Regions from separate parts of the Homo sapiens genome. Here all the other regions are linked to region 3. Evidence: promoter capture Hi-C in 16 types of primary human blood cells and fetal thymus (Javierre and others, 2016). All regions are on one chromosome and are shown on one strand. Each heading gives the region's core, a stretch centred on a gene start or on the middle of the fragment in contact. The rest is flanking DNA. Distances are from core to core; before and after follow the strand shown. Region 1 has its middle 69 kb from the start of RASD2. Region 2 has its middle 36 kb from the start of MCM5. Region 3 holds the start of HMGXB4 (HMG-box containing 4).

Region 1 (4,321 bases), core at 692-3,191, 210 kb before region 3:
AATAACGAAGGACATGCCTTTCTGGAGCATCTGCCCCCACAGGCCTCCTACCCTCTCCAGGTTTCTGCTAGGTGAGCTGGGAAGGACCAGAGGCAGCAGCTGTGGGTCACTGGGAGAATAAAGAAGAGGCTCATGTCCTCGTCATCTCCAAGGAGAGGCCATTAAGGAGATACTCTTGGGTAAGCAGGAGGCAAAACACACACACACACACACACACACACACACACACACACACAGAGAGAGAGAGAGAGAGAGAAAATGTAAAAGTGGGCCATGAATCTGGAGGTCTGGGACTAGCTGCTGTGTGAGCGTGGACAAGTCACCTGACCTGTCTGGATCTTGGCTTCATCTCTGTCCTGTGTGTGGTTTATGGGGAGCTGATCCATCTGCACATGTCCAGCCGGCCTGGGAGACCTCACCTTGTGGTCTGGGGCAGTTGTCCTAGGTCTCGGCAGACGTCACTTCCCAGATTTTTCCCTGTCCCCTGGGATTTGCTGCATGGGAATGCCAAGCCCTACTTCTTCAAAGCCACCGGGTCTTCCACACTGCCTGATGTTCGCCCATCCCCATCACCCAGCACCATCCTCCAGCTCGAGCAGAGGCTGGCAGGGCCCTACCCGCAGCCCCACTAGTTGGAGCGAGAACTGAAGGTGGCGGCACTCCCACTATGCACCAGGTTATTGGCAGGTATTAACTCCTTCAATCACCCCATGAGGTCACTGTTCATGTTTCCATTTTACAAATAAGGAAACAGGTTCAGAGAGGTTAAGTCACTGGCTCAAGGACACCCAGTCGGTATGTGGCTGAGCAAGCATTCCTGTTTCTGCTAAGTCAGCTGCTTGTCCTGTGCTGTGACACTCTGGGTACCAGAAGCTCACCAGGCTCCTGACCCTGCAGCTCTGAGCTGGGGAGCGAGGAGAAGGCTTGAGGCCAAGAGCATGGAGACTGTCCCAGCAGAGGCTAATGCCATGAGCATGAGCCTTACCTCCAGAAATGCCCTTCCTCCCGGTTCTTCTGAGAACCACCTCTGTAACTGCCCATTCATAGAGGAAAGAGCAAAAAACCGAGCACCCACCATTTGTCAGCTCTGTTCTGAGCACAACCTTGATGACCAACATGCATCCCTGCCTTCATGGGGATCACGGTCCAGGGTAGGAGACAAAGAAACTCAGGTCAGGAGTGCATGGAGTGTTATAGAAGAGGGGCATGGGGACTGTGGGAGCCAGAAAAGGAGTTCCTAGGCCAATCCAGAAATCAGGGAAAGCTTCCTGGAGGAAGAAATACATGTACAAATGGCTCCTCAGTGGGCTCGGACCAAGGAAGGTCTGCTTTGTTCCTTGTTATCTACCCAGGACTGAGGACAATGCCTGACAAAAGTGAACTCTCAGGAAAGAATGGCTGAAATGATTTGCTTAATTTGAAGTGATACAGTTTGGCTGTGTCCCCACCCAAATCTCATCTTGAATTGTAACTCCCACAATTCCTACGTTTAGTGGGAGGAACCTGGTGAGAGGTAATTGAATCATGGGGGTGGGTCTTTCCCATGCTGTTCTCCTGATAGTGAGTAAGTCTCACGAGATCTGATGGTTTTAAGAACGGGAGTTCCCCTGCACAAACTCTCTCTTTGCCTACTACCATCCATGTAAGATGTGACTTGCTCCTCCTTGCCTTCTGGCATGATTGTGAGGCGTCCCCAGCCATGTGGAACTGTAAGTCCATTAAACTTCTTTATTTTGTAAATTGCCCAGTCTCAGGTATGTATTTATCAGCAGTGTGAGAACAGACTAATACAGGAAGCTCCATGACAAATGACTGATGCCTTTAAGAATGTCAGGAAAATGTCTGGGATATTCGGGAACTGAGAAGGCAGTGGGGGTGGGGGTGTGTGGGTGAGCTCTGTCTTCAAAACCTGCAGGCACCACCAGCAAGAGAAAACCCACTGGACCTGGGGGACCCCAAGGGGCAAAGCCAGGACTGGTGGGAAGAGGCATATTTGGCTCCATCTCTAAGCAAGAGCATTTCAACAATCCAGCAGTTAGAAAGGCCGGGAGCTGTCTGTGAAGTTCTGAGTCCTCCGTTAGAGGGGTTTGAGCTGAGGCTGGATGGCTATCTATTAAGGATGCTGGAAAAATAAATAGATCAAAGGTCTTGGTGGGAGGCGGAGTCCGCTGAGTTTTCCAGGTCTCGTCTGTGGCTGAGTCTGAGATGTGCCTGCCCAACGGGCGACTCACTTTGTCCCCGCTAGCAGAACTCCCATTCAGGGTAGAACATCATGGCGCCCACTACAGGAGCTGAAAAGGATTGTTCTAAGCCTTTATGACTGTCCTCCTTTGTCAAAGCCTTCCCAGCCTGCTCTGCAACAGCAGCAGTCATGTGACCCAGTTCTGGCCAATGGTGTGTCTGTTGAGCAACTTCTAGAAAAGATCTTGTGTCCTCCCCACACAAGGGAGGCTGTCACCTAACCACTGTGGGGCAGCCCTTTCATCTTCCTTATGGGGATGAGGGTGAGAGTATAGGATGCCTGGCAGCCACCTTGAGACCATGAGGCAACAAACCGTAAGCTGAAAAGCACACACTCAGGACAGCAAAGGAGTGAAGTTTGGGGCAGCAAAGCTTAGCAATTCTGAGATACACCATCTTTTGATATTTGACATCTTTGAAATCAAGATGTATCTTATGATCATCATTAGGTGTTAGGGTGTACTTGGCTATTTTTTTTTAATCAATAGAGACATGGCATAGTTTAGGGATTTGTGCAATACCATGTAAATAATACATAGTGTAACCAAGAGCCCGACCAGACCTTTTCCAACTCAGCATGTGAGACATGGTCTGAGGGAAGGAAGGGAGATGAGCTCAAACATACTGAGCACCTACTATGTGCTCAGGCACTTCACAGGTGCCACCTCTCCCAATGTTCACACGCCCTGCACTTGCCCAGAGTCACTCACCCAGGAAGTGGCAGAAACAGGATGAAACGTAGATTTATTTGACTCTGAAGCTAAGGCTCCCACAGTTTGTTTGTCTCTGTCCTTGGGGCTGTGTCCTCTTCCAGTTCCGCAGCCGAGGGGCTGAGTGCAGGAGTTGTTGCCTCCTCCCCAGGCACCAGTGTCCAGATGGTTTGCAAACTGCTTGCCCCTCCGTCTCTCCTCTTCATCCTGGGGCCATGAGGAGCTGCCACAGGGCTTTTAAGAAGGGACTGACGGCTGGGCACGGTGGGTCACACCTGTAATCCCAGCATTTTGGGAGACCGAGGTGGGTGGATCACGATGTCAGGAGTTCGAGACCAGCCTGGCCAATATGGCGAAACCTCGTCTCTACTGAAAATACAAAAATTAGCTGGGTGTGGTGGCACGTGCCTGTAGTCCCAGCTACTCGGGAGGCTGAGGCAGAAGAATCGCTTGAACCCGGGAGGCGGAGGTTGCAGTGAGCCGAGATCATGCCACTGCACTCCAGCCTGGGCAAGACTCTGTCTCAAAAAAAAAAAAAAAAAAAGGAGAATGACATGGCACTAGTGACTTATTTCTCTGGGTTAAGCATGGCCCTCTCCAGCTCTCTTGCTTAAAAGACAAGGTGCTGATGCAGGGAAGTCTAACAACCCTACCCTCAGGCACAAGCATGTATCTTGTTGGGCTCCTCGAGTAGAGGAAGGATGAGGGACATGTCCCAGGGAAGGCCCCCAGGTCAGCCTCACTGGCTTCTCCAGGAGGTCAAGGGCTGGCAGAGGCCCTGCCCATCCCTCTGCCTTTACACTGACCTCCCCGCTCTGTCTTCTGCTGCTGTCACCCATGCCTTGGGCAGACCACACAGCCAGCCTGGCTACCCTGAGTCCATTCCCCTGACTTCACCTGAACAGCGGACAGCAGGAGTTGAACCTCTGAGCCTTGGATTCAGGACCGTCTGGGTTCAACTTCTGTCTCCCCCAGCTGTAGACAGGTGACCCTGGGGAGTTATTTATTCTCTCTAAACCTCAGTTTGTTTATCTGTAAAATGTGGGTAATGACACTTTACTATACAGACTTCTCGAGAGAATCAAATAAGACAAAAATATAATTGACAGAGCACCATGCTAGAGCAGAAAACTCTATAAACATCACTCTTATTTCTATTGTTGAAATTGTCCAGCAATGGTATCTGTGGAACATAAGGCTCAGAGAGGGGACATGAATTGCCCAGCACCATACAGCCAGTTGATGGCACAGCTGGAATCAGAATGTGAGTTTTTTTTCCCACTTAATAATAATAACAATAAAAATAACATTAATGGGGGCCATGTGCGGTGGCTCATGCCTGTAATCCCAGCACTTTGGGAGGCCAAGGT
Region 2 (3,838 bases), core at 1,079-3,578, 180 kb before region 3:
GGGTCCTTCTGCCTGGAAGATCTTTACCCTTTCCCTTCCTTGCCCTCGCTTGGTGAATAGGGAGATGAAGAGGACAAGGGGAAACGACAGGCCAAACATTACCACTAACTTGCTGTGTGTCCTGGGACTAGTCACTCCCCTTCTCCTCTGGGCCTGTCTCCCTCACTAAAATGTGAAAAAATAGGACTAGATTGACACTTTCCAACCTGGCTGGTATCAGAATCCTCTGGGAAGCTTGTGAAAATGCAGATGCCCAGGCCTCAGACCCATTAAACCAGCATCAGTTTTTAACAGGCTACCCAGGTGACTCTCACAATTGGTCAGATTTGGAGATAAGGGACTAAAAGGTCCCCAGGGCCTCAGTTGTGACACCCCGACTCATGGCTAGGTATGGCCCTTTCTGTAACCCGTCTTCTTTCCCTCTTTCATCTCCTCTCTGATAGTCAGGAACCTTTCAGTTACAAGGTCAGGAGCCCGACCCACCCTAACTGAAAGGAAATCTATTTGCAGACATACAAAGAAATTCACAAAGCAGAACTGCCTTCAGGCTTAGCTGGATCCAGGGGTTCAAAGATTCTCAAGGCTGTCATTCCATCTCTCAGCTGTTTCCTCAGTGTATCAGTTTCATTCCCACGTAGGCTCTGTCTACATGGCATGATGATGGCTGCTGGCCCACCCAACTCTTGTTATGCCACCCCACAATCCTGTAGAAAGTGAGAGAACCTCTCTCTTTTGGTGTCCATGAATCAAATCTCAAAGACTGATTGGCCCAGCCTGAGTCACCTGCCCACCAGGAGCCAATCCTTAGGCCAGGGGATGGGGCATTCTGATTGGCCAGTCCAGTCACATGACCAAAGAAACCCAGTATGTTCGGGGCACTGCCCATTCCCTAGGCCTAAGCCCTGGTCAATTCCCAGCCATGGGCACTTCCTGTAAGGGGGAGGGGAGGAGAGCCCAGCATCCTCCTGGGGCTGTTCTGCATGCAGGTGTCAACTGATCACCTGCCCAGAAGTCAGAAGTTTGTGGCTGTGTTCAGAGAAATTTCTGGAGGATCCAGGCCAATGGCCTCCTCATGTCCTCTGAAGGAGGTGGCCCTAGTGACGCGAGGCTGAGTCTTGGGACCCCTCTCCATCTGGCTTTGTGAAGTCACCCTTCCATCCTCATCTGCGAACTGACTCTCCCCCTGGCAAAGCTTGGGTTTCTAGGCCCACAGATAAACGTCTTTTCTACCCACCCCATAATCCCAAGGGCACTTTGCCAGCCCCTTCTCATTTGTTTGTGAAGGTCGGGTGGGGATATGATTACAGCCAGGCTGCCTTCCTAGGACAGGGTCCTGACCCAGAATGGCCTGTGGCCCTGCCCCAATGGGTTTGGACATGGGAAGGTGATGCAGGGGCAGAAAGCCAGGGCTGGGGAGAGCTGAGCAGCTCTGCACAAGAGTGAAGGGGGGAATTGAGGGGGAGAGGGCACGAAGCCAGGGAGATGGAAAAAGGCCAGAAGCCCCGGCCCATGAGATGTGCAGGGTGCAGTGGGCGCTGGCAAAGGAGTAGAAACAGCAGGGCCCCCTCATAGAAAACGTGAAGCCCCCAGGTGCCCCTTCTGCCCAGCTTTCAATAAAGCCTTGCACATAAGAGAGGGCTTTGGTGGAAACTGAGGAAGGGGCTGAACTCCAAGCCTGGATGCTGTCACATGTAACAGCGTGTGGAGGTAGTGGCGAGGCCTGGAAGCTGCGGAAGGTCAGAGAAGCAGGAGCATGAAGCCTCTGGGGCCCATGCGGTCTGTGGGTGGGGAGGCTGTTAAGAGCTGGATCCAGGCCGGGGAGGGCAGGGGTCCCAAACACCATCTTGGACCCATCGGGGCTAGCCATTTTCCCTCCATTTTCTTTTTTTCTTTTTTTTTTTTTTTTTTTGAGACTGAGTTTTGCTCTTGTTGCCCAGGCTGGAGTGCAGTGGTGCGATCTCAGTTCACAACCTCTGCTTCCCAGGTTCAAGCGATTCTCCTGCCTCAGCCTCCCGAGTAGCTGGGATTACAGGCATGCACCACCATGCCCAGCTAATTTTTGTATTGTTAGTAGAGATGGGGTTTCTCCATGTTGATCAGGCTGGTCTTGAACTCCCGACCTCAGGTGATCCGCCCGCCTCGGCCTCCCAAAGTGCTGGGATTACAGGCGTGAGCCACCGCGCCCGGCCATTTCCTTCCATTTTCATTCAACTGGGGGAAGCACAGCAAAAAATACCCTCTCCTTTTCCCTCTCAAGCAGACATGCCCGAGAGGTTGCCCAGCAGGCCTGCAGCAGATGCAGGACTAGAACCCAGGCCTCCGCCTCCAAGGCCAAGTTAGGGAGGCTGGCAGGGGGTGCCTACTGGGTCTCCCCCTCCCTCTGCCTGCCCCTCCTGGCCAGGGTTGTGTCCCACTCAGACCCACTGTGCCAAGGCTTCAGGCGACAAGCCCACAGGACAAAGGCTGCAGCAGGAAGACCCGGGAACAAAGCTGCTGCTGTGTAGACCAAGTTCAAAAATAAGCCAGACTCCCCGAGAGTCTGGTCACCATAGCAACGGGGGAGTTGTTCTGCAGAAGCCTCCTCACTGAAAGGCCCGGTGGCCACCACCTTCTTCCTCCCCTCCCTGAGGAATCAAGTCCCACCAGCACCAGGAGGAGCCTCTGGTGTCTTCACACATGCACATGCTGTCCCACCAAGTCCCCATCGAGGCCCCACCGCGGCCCTGAGAGACAGCCAGGGTCATTGTCACTCTGCACACTGGACCCCTGGGGTTCTGAGACAGAGGTCCTCACCAGGGTCACACACAGCTCAGGTCTGTCTGCCTCCAGGTCCAGCAATGCACAGCAAATTGGGAGGCCTGTATTCAAACTCCCATCTCTCTCCCTGCCTCCCAGCCTCCTCCTCATTCCTTTTTGTTTGTTTGAGATGGAGTCTTGCTCTGTCGCCCAGGCTGGAGTGTAGTGGTGCTATCCCAGCTCACTGCAACCTCCACCTCCCGGGTTCAAGCAATTCTCCTGCCTCAGCCTCCTGAGTAACTGGGACTACAGGCACCTGCCACCATACCCAGCTAATTTTTGTATTTTAGTAGAGATGGGGTTTTGCCACGTTGGCCAGGCTGGTCTTGAACTCCTGACCTCAAGTGATCCACCCACCTCGACCTTCCAAAGTGCTGGGATTACAGGCGTGAGCCACCGCGCCCTGCCTCCTCATTCCTCTGTGCCTCAGTTTCCCCCTCCCACCCAAAGCATTGTCGGGGTAAAGATGGGGACAGTTGTGCGTCCTTCCCAGGCTATTAGTGGTGAACAGGCATGATCACCCATGAGCAGGAACTGTGGGACTCTTGTCATAATCTCCTGTCCTCAGTGTTTCATTACAGCAGTGTCCCGTGTGGCATTCACTAATAGTTCCTCCTTGTGGGGTAAAGGTGTTGTCAGACAGGCTGTGGTAGGAATGCCCAAGCTTTCTCATCCCACTTCTGGAGATAGGCCCTTTCCCGCCTGGTCACAAAAGCAGGAAATGATCTGGACCTGACCAATTGATCTTGGCATCTCATCTCTCTGGCCACTGTGATTGGTCCAGGAGATAATGACTGGCCCAAGCACAGCCAATCAGAGAGCTCCCCTGGGACCGATAAATGGATACTGAGAGAAAAAAGCTCTTTCTTGGCAGAGAGGGTGGGGAGTTCAGGTTACTGACTTGGGACTTCCATGGGGCCTTGTCCCACACAGTGTGTAGAAGATGTATCATCAGGGTTCAGTGACAGACAACGGAATCCATTCCAGCTAGTAGGGAAAAAAAGGGCTTTTTTTTTTCAAGCATATTATTACTAAGTGTCTG
Region 3 (4,181 bases), core at 679-3,178:
GGAGGTCATAATTACATTAAATGTTGGCAAATGTGAAACAGGTGTTAAAACCCAGTCTCAATTCAATAATTTGGGAGTTTATAAAATTCAATGTTGTCAACTCCAAGAGGCAAGAATAATTTTGTTTGTCTCAGTGTGCTAAGATATGACAACATAAGTAAAAGTTCACTATTTCATACTGTTGATACAAGTAAAAAACTGGTACCATAAAAATGTATACTTATGAAATGCACAAATTGTTAAATAGCTCTTCGGGGACTTTTCTTCAGGATATGAAAAAGGAGGGGGCAGAGTTGCTCTTTCCCTGGTAGATAAGCATACAAGTTATGTTCAGGCATAGGCCTTTGGGATGACCAAAGTAATCAGGAGGAAAAAGTCCTCAGATATAGCACTTTGTCATTTTGAAACTTCAAATTACAGTTAAAAAACAGGTTTCAGACTTTTTTTGAGGTAACTTGAGCTCCTGCAATCAACAACCTTCTTCACCCCATAATGTAAATGAGTATCGAAAAAAAGGAAACAAAGTAAGCCCCGTCACACGGACAGTAAGAGAAATTCTGAACTCCAGGTCTGTTCCAGGATGAGAGCCATGTCCAAGATTCTGCATTCTCTTCTTCCAACCACTCCTTTCAAGAACTCAAAATGCCAGTCAGTGCAGGTAAAGGAAGATGCACATCCGCCGGTTGCCAATTTCTGAAATTTTCTTGTTACTTCTACGATACAGACAAGTGATGCCTTCTCAACTTCGTCCAGGTTTCTTCCAATCTCCGAACACGGTGACTCCGAATCCTCTTGCCACTCCCTTCTCCAGGGACCTACCTAGGCAGCACTCCCAGCCCCTGCCAGCTCTGGAAGCTGCAGAGATCCCGACAGTCGGGGATGGGGATTGAATCCTCTCATTGCAGTGCAATTAAGCGGAACCACGACCACCGCACAGATTGGCTGACAACACACATTCCATAAGACCAGCAATCGAATTTTGAGAAGCCTTGTCCAATCAACAGGCTTTATTTGGGATTCAGTTTTTTACTTTGTTCTATTAGGAGGAAATATAATCAGCCACCAGCTTAGCCCTCCAAAAGAGGGGACAGAGATGTTTCTCCGCTTTTGCACGCTATAAAGTGAATCTACAAGTAGTAGTTGGTGGAGGGAAAATGGGCCTGCATGGAGAAGGCGCCCACCACGAAGGCACGGCCAAGCCGGGTTGCACGCAAGAAACACACAAAATACCAGGTGATTTACACAAACAGCCCCCAGGACCACCATTTTTGTGGTCCCCAAGGCAAACCAGTGGGATTCTCCCGGCAGTTTTGCGGCAACAGCTAGCTCAACAAAGCTCTGTGAAGAGGAAAAGAAGAAAGCTCCTCGTACTTTCTCCTGCCAGCCGCAGCCCCAGCCCTCCCGTGGCCGCGGCCACGAGCCCTTTCCCCCTGACAGCCCGAGGGACCCCCGCATCGCGGGTTCCGAGCCGCACAGCTCGACCTGAACCCGGGTTCCCGCGTCTCCGGCGGCCTCACGGCGCCCCCGAGGGCGGAGACGGCCCGGGCAGGGGGAGGGGCGGCCCGGGTCCGCAGGCCCCCGGGGCGGCCGCACGCCCCCTCCCGGCCCCGCAGCTTTCCCGCCTTCCCCGTTTGAACAGCTCCCGCCCGCCCTCCTCCTTCTGCCCGCTCCAGCCCCTTCCTGGGGGCGGCTGCGGCCGCTACTCCAGTCCCCGGCTCGGCCCCTGGGCTAGGCCGCGAAGGGCCTGGGGCACCCCAGAGGTGATGTCGCGGGCCCAGGGCGGCGGGTGGCGACGGGGCGGGGCTGCTGCCGCCTCAGGGTGGGGGCCCAGCCCGGTCTCCTGGGGTCTCCGCTCGCCGCTACCTTCACTCGGCTCGCCCGGATCCCGCCTCAACGCCGCCGATCGCCGCCATCTTGGAGAAGGAGAGAAAAGCGCGAGCGGCCAGGGAGCCTCAGTCGAGCCCAGAGCGCAGACTCGGGCTCCGGAGGGGGAATCCCGCTCGACCAAGAGCGCCGAGCGCATCGAATAAAACTCGGAGCCTGCTGAGCGCGGGAGCTGGCACTTATTTATTGAGAATTTGCTATGTCCCAGCCTTGCCCTAGAAGCTTACAAACATTATTTCACTTAATCCTCACTGTATTCCTGTCGCATTTTGCAGAAGAGAACCAGGCTGAGAGAAGTTAAGTGACGTGCCCAAGGATACACAGGTAGTTGGAATGTGAGACCGAGTATTACTCCAAGTCTTCTGATTCTGAATGCAGTGCTTTCCCCAAAATACTATGCTGTTTCTTTCAAGATATTGTTATACAGCAGTTCTCCTCTTTGCAACACCTAGATCTATGCAGATTAATAGCAGTGTGCTTATTTGGACTTCAGCATCTACATTTGAACATTTGGCATATTAGGGGTGAGGTGAAGAACTTATCTTTGTAACAATGTACAGTAAAATAATTTGCATGGCGAATCATCTACATTTTTTAGTTAGAAACAGTCTTCAGAGAGAGAGAGGAAGAGATGTCATATACAGGCGAGAACACAATTTTTCTGATTTGCCATTGAGAACTTCGACCAATGAGTAGAAATTACAGTGTATAGAACTTGGTTTGATATGAAGAAGAACGCCAGGGGCGGTGGCTCACGCCTGTAATCCCAGCACTTTGGGAGGCTGAGGTGGGTGGATCACCTGAGGTCAGGAGTTCGAGACCAGCCTGACCAATGTGGTGAAACCCCGTCTCTACTAAAAATACAAAAAATTAGCCAGGCGTGGTGGCGCGTGCCTGTAATCCCAGCTACTTAGGAGGCTGAGGCAGGAGAATCGCTTGAACCCGGGAGGCGGAGATTGCAGTGAGCCGAGATTGCGCCACTGCACTCCAGCCTGGGGGACAGAGTGAGACTCCATCTCAAAAAATATATATATATATGAAGAATAACTTATTTTTCTAGTACAGTTCAGTAGTACAATGGGCTTCCTTGTGAGTAGTGAGCTCCCTCCCACTGGAGGAGCGCTCAAGCAGAAGCTGGTGTTACTGTAAAGCAGAGAAGTTAGAGATGTAGATTGGCTTCTAGAGTTGTGAACCCCATGCAACGTAAAATCATGTGTGCAGTGTGTGTTTTCCTAGGGCCCAGGCCCCATAAAAAATTAAGAACCTCTGTCCTAGTGTATTTTCCATTGCAGAGTTGGGTGAGTGCTTGAAGACGAGGTAGTCATGAGACCAATAAAAGCAAGGTGATTTGTCTGAGACCACACTCTAATCAGTGATCAGATAAAGATGAAAAGCCAGATTGTTAGACTCTGGTTCAGTGCTCTTTTTGCTATATCATGCTCTCTCCCCCTCTGCACTGAGTAGAAGATTGATTCTGTTTCTTACAACTGTGAGATGCTGAGATGTTAAAACACCTGAGATAAAGTTGCTGAAATCATTTGCAAAATGTAACTGCAAATACTTAATAAAAGTAGCATGGCCTTTTTCTCCGCAGCTCCCATCCTACTCACCAAAAAGACAGGCAATGAGTTTCACCAAAAGGTGTTAGATTGCATTTCTGGGACACCCTGCCTGACGTTAGGCTTCCCTTTGAGGCATTTAAGAGCCCTAATGATGTATTTCCTTTTTGTTCTTCAGAGCCCTAAATCCATTGGTCAGGATGATTTCAGTTGTGACAGAAACCCATTTCCATGTGTTTCCCCAGAAGAGGGGAATTTATTGGCTCACATGATTGAAATTTCCAGTACCTGCAGACATGGTCACTTCCAGGGAGGTAACTCAAGCTGGTCCTTTGACGTGTCTGTGGTGCTCTCCTCTGTTAGCTTTATTCTCAGATTCAGGTGATGACTCCAGCAGCTCCAAGCTTCATCATCTTTCCTGCTAGCAGTGTCCCTGTGGAGGGAGGTTTTGTTTGTTTGTTTTGAGACAGGGTCTTTCTCTGTCACCCAGGCTGGAGTGCAGTGGCACGATCACAGCTCACTGCAGCTTCGACCCCCTGAGTTCAAGCAATCCTCCCACCTCAGCCCCCCAAGTAGCTGGGACCACAGGTGCATGCCACCATGCCCAGGTACTTTTTGTATTTTTTGTAGAGATGGGTTTTTTTTGTTGTTTTTTTTTTACCATGTTGCCCAGGCTGGTCTCAAGCTCCTGGACTCAAGCAATCCTCCTGCCTTGGCCTCCCAGAGTGCTGGGATTAC

Evidence for each region. Contacts are between HindIII fragments. The CHiCAGO score rates a contact against its expected background, and 5 or more counts as called.
Region 1: a fragment that was not itself captured here is called in contact with the fragment with the promoter of HMGXB4 in region 3 in 1 of 17 cell types (neutrophils); the score reaches 6.5 in neutrophils.
Region 2: a fragment that was not itself captured here is called in contact with the fragment with the promoter of HMGXB4 in region 3 in 1 of 17 cell types (neutrophils); the score reaches 9.3 in neutrophils.

The regions. Positions count from the first base shown.
Region 1 is chr22:35,469,182-35,473,502 of GRCh38, reverse strand. No RefSeq gene overlaps it. Among named protein-coding and RNA genes, the nearest start is that of RASD2, 69 kb to the left of the region's middle. The HindIII fragment of the contact is 1,349 bases long and covers 1,267-2,615 here.
Region 2 is chr22:35,434,236-35,438,073 of GRCh38, reverse strand. It overlaps a transcript of MCM5 not described here. Among named protein-coding and RNA genes, the nearest start is that of MCM5, 36 kb to the right of the region's middle. RefSeq lists an enhancer at 2,431-2,932. The HindIII fragment of the contact is 2,268 bases long and covers 1,195-3,462 here.
Region 3 is chr22:35,255,240-35,259,420 of GRCh38, reverse strand. It overlaps HMGXB4 (HMG-box containing 4), which reads right to left and starts at 1,928. Exons shown (of 11, transcript NM_001003681.3): 1 at 1,864-1,928. LOC105373017 (a long non-coding RNA gene) reads left to right here. Exons shown (of 4, transcript XR_938210.3): 1 at 1-1,233; 2 at 2,160-2,208. RefSeq lists a silencer at 1,369-1,868 and an enhancer at 2,134-2,634. The HindIII fragment of the contact is 10,131 bases long and covers 1-2,108 here.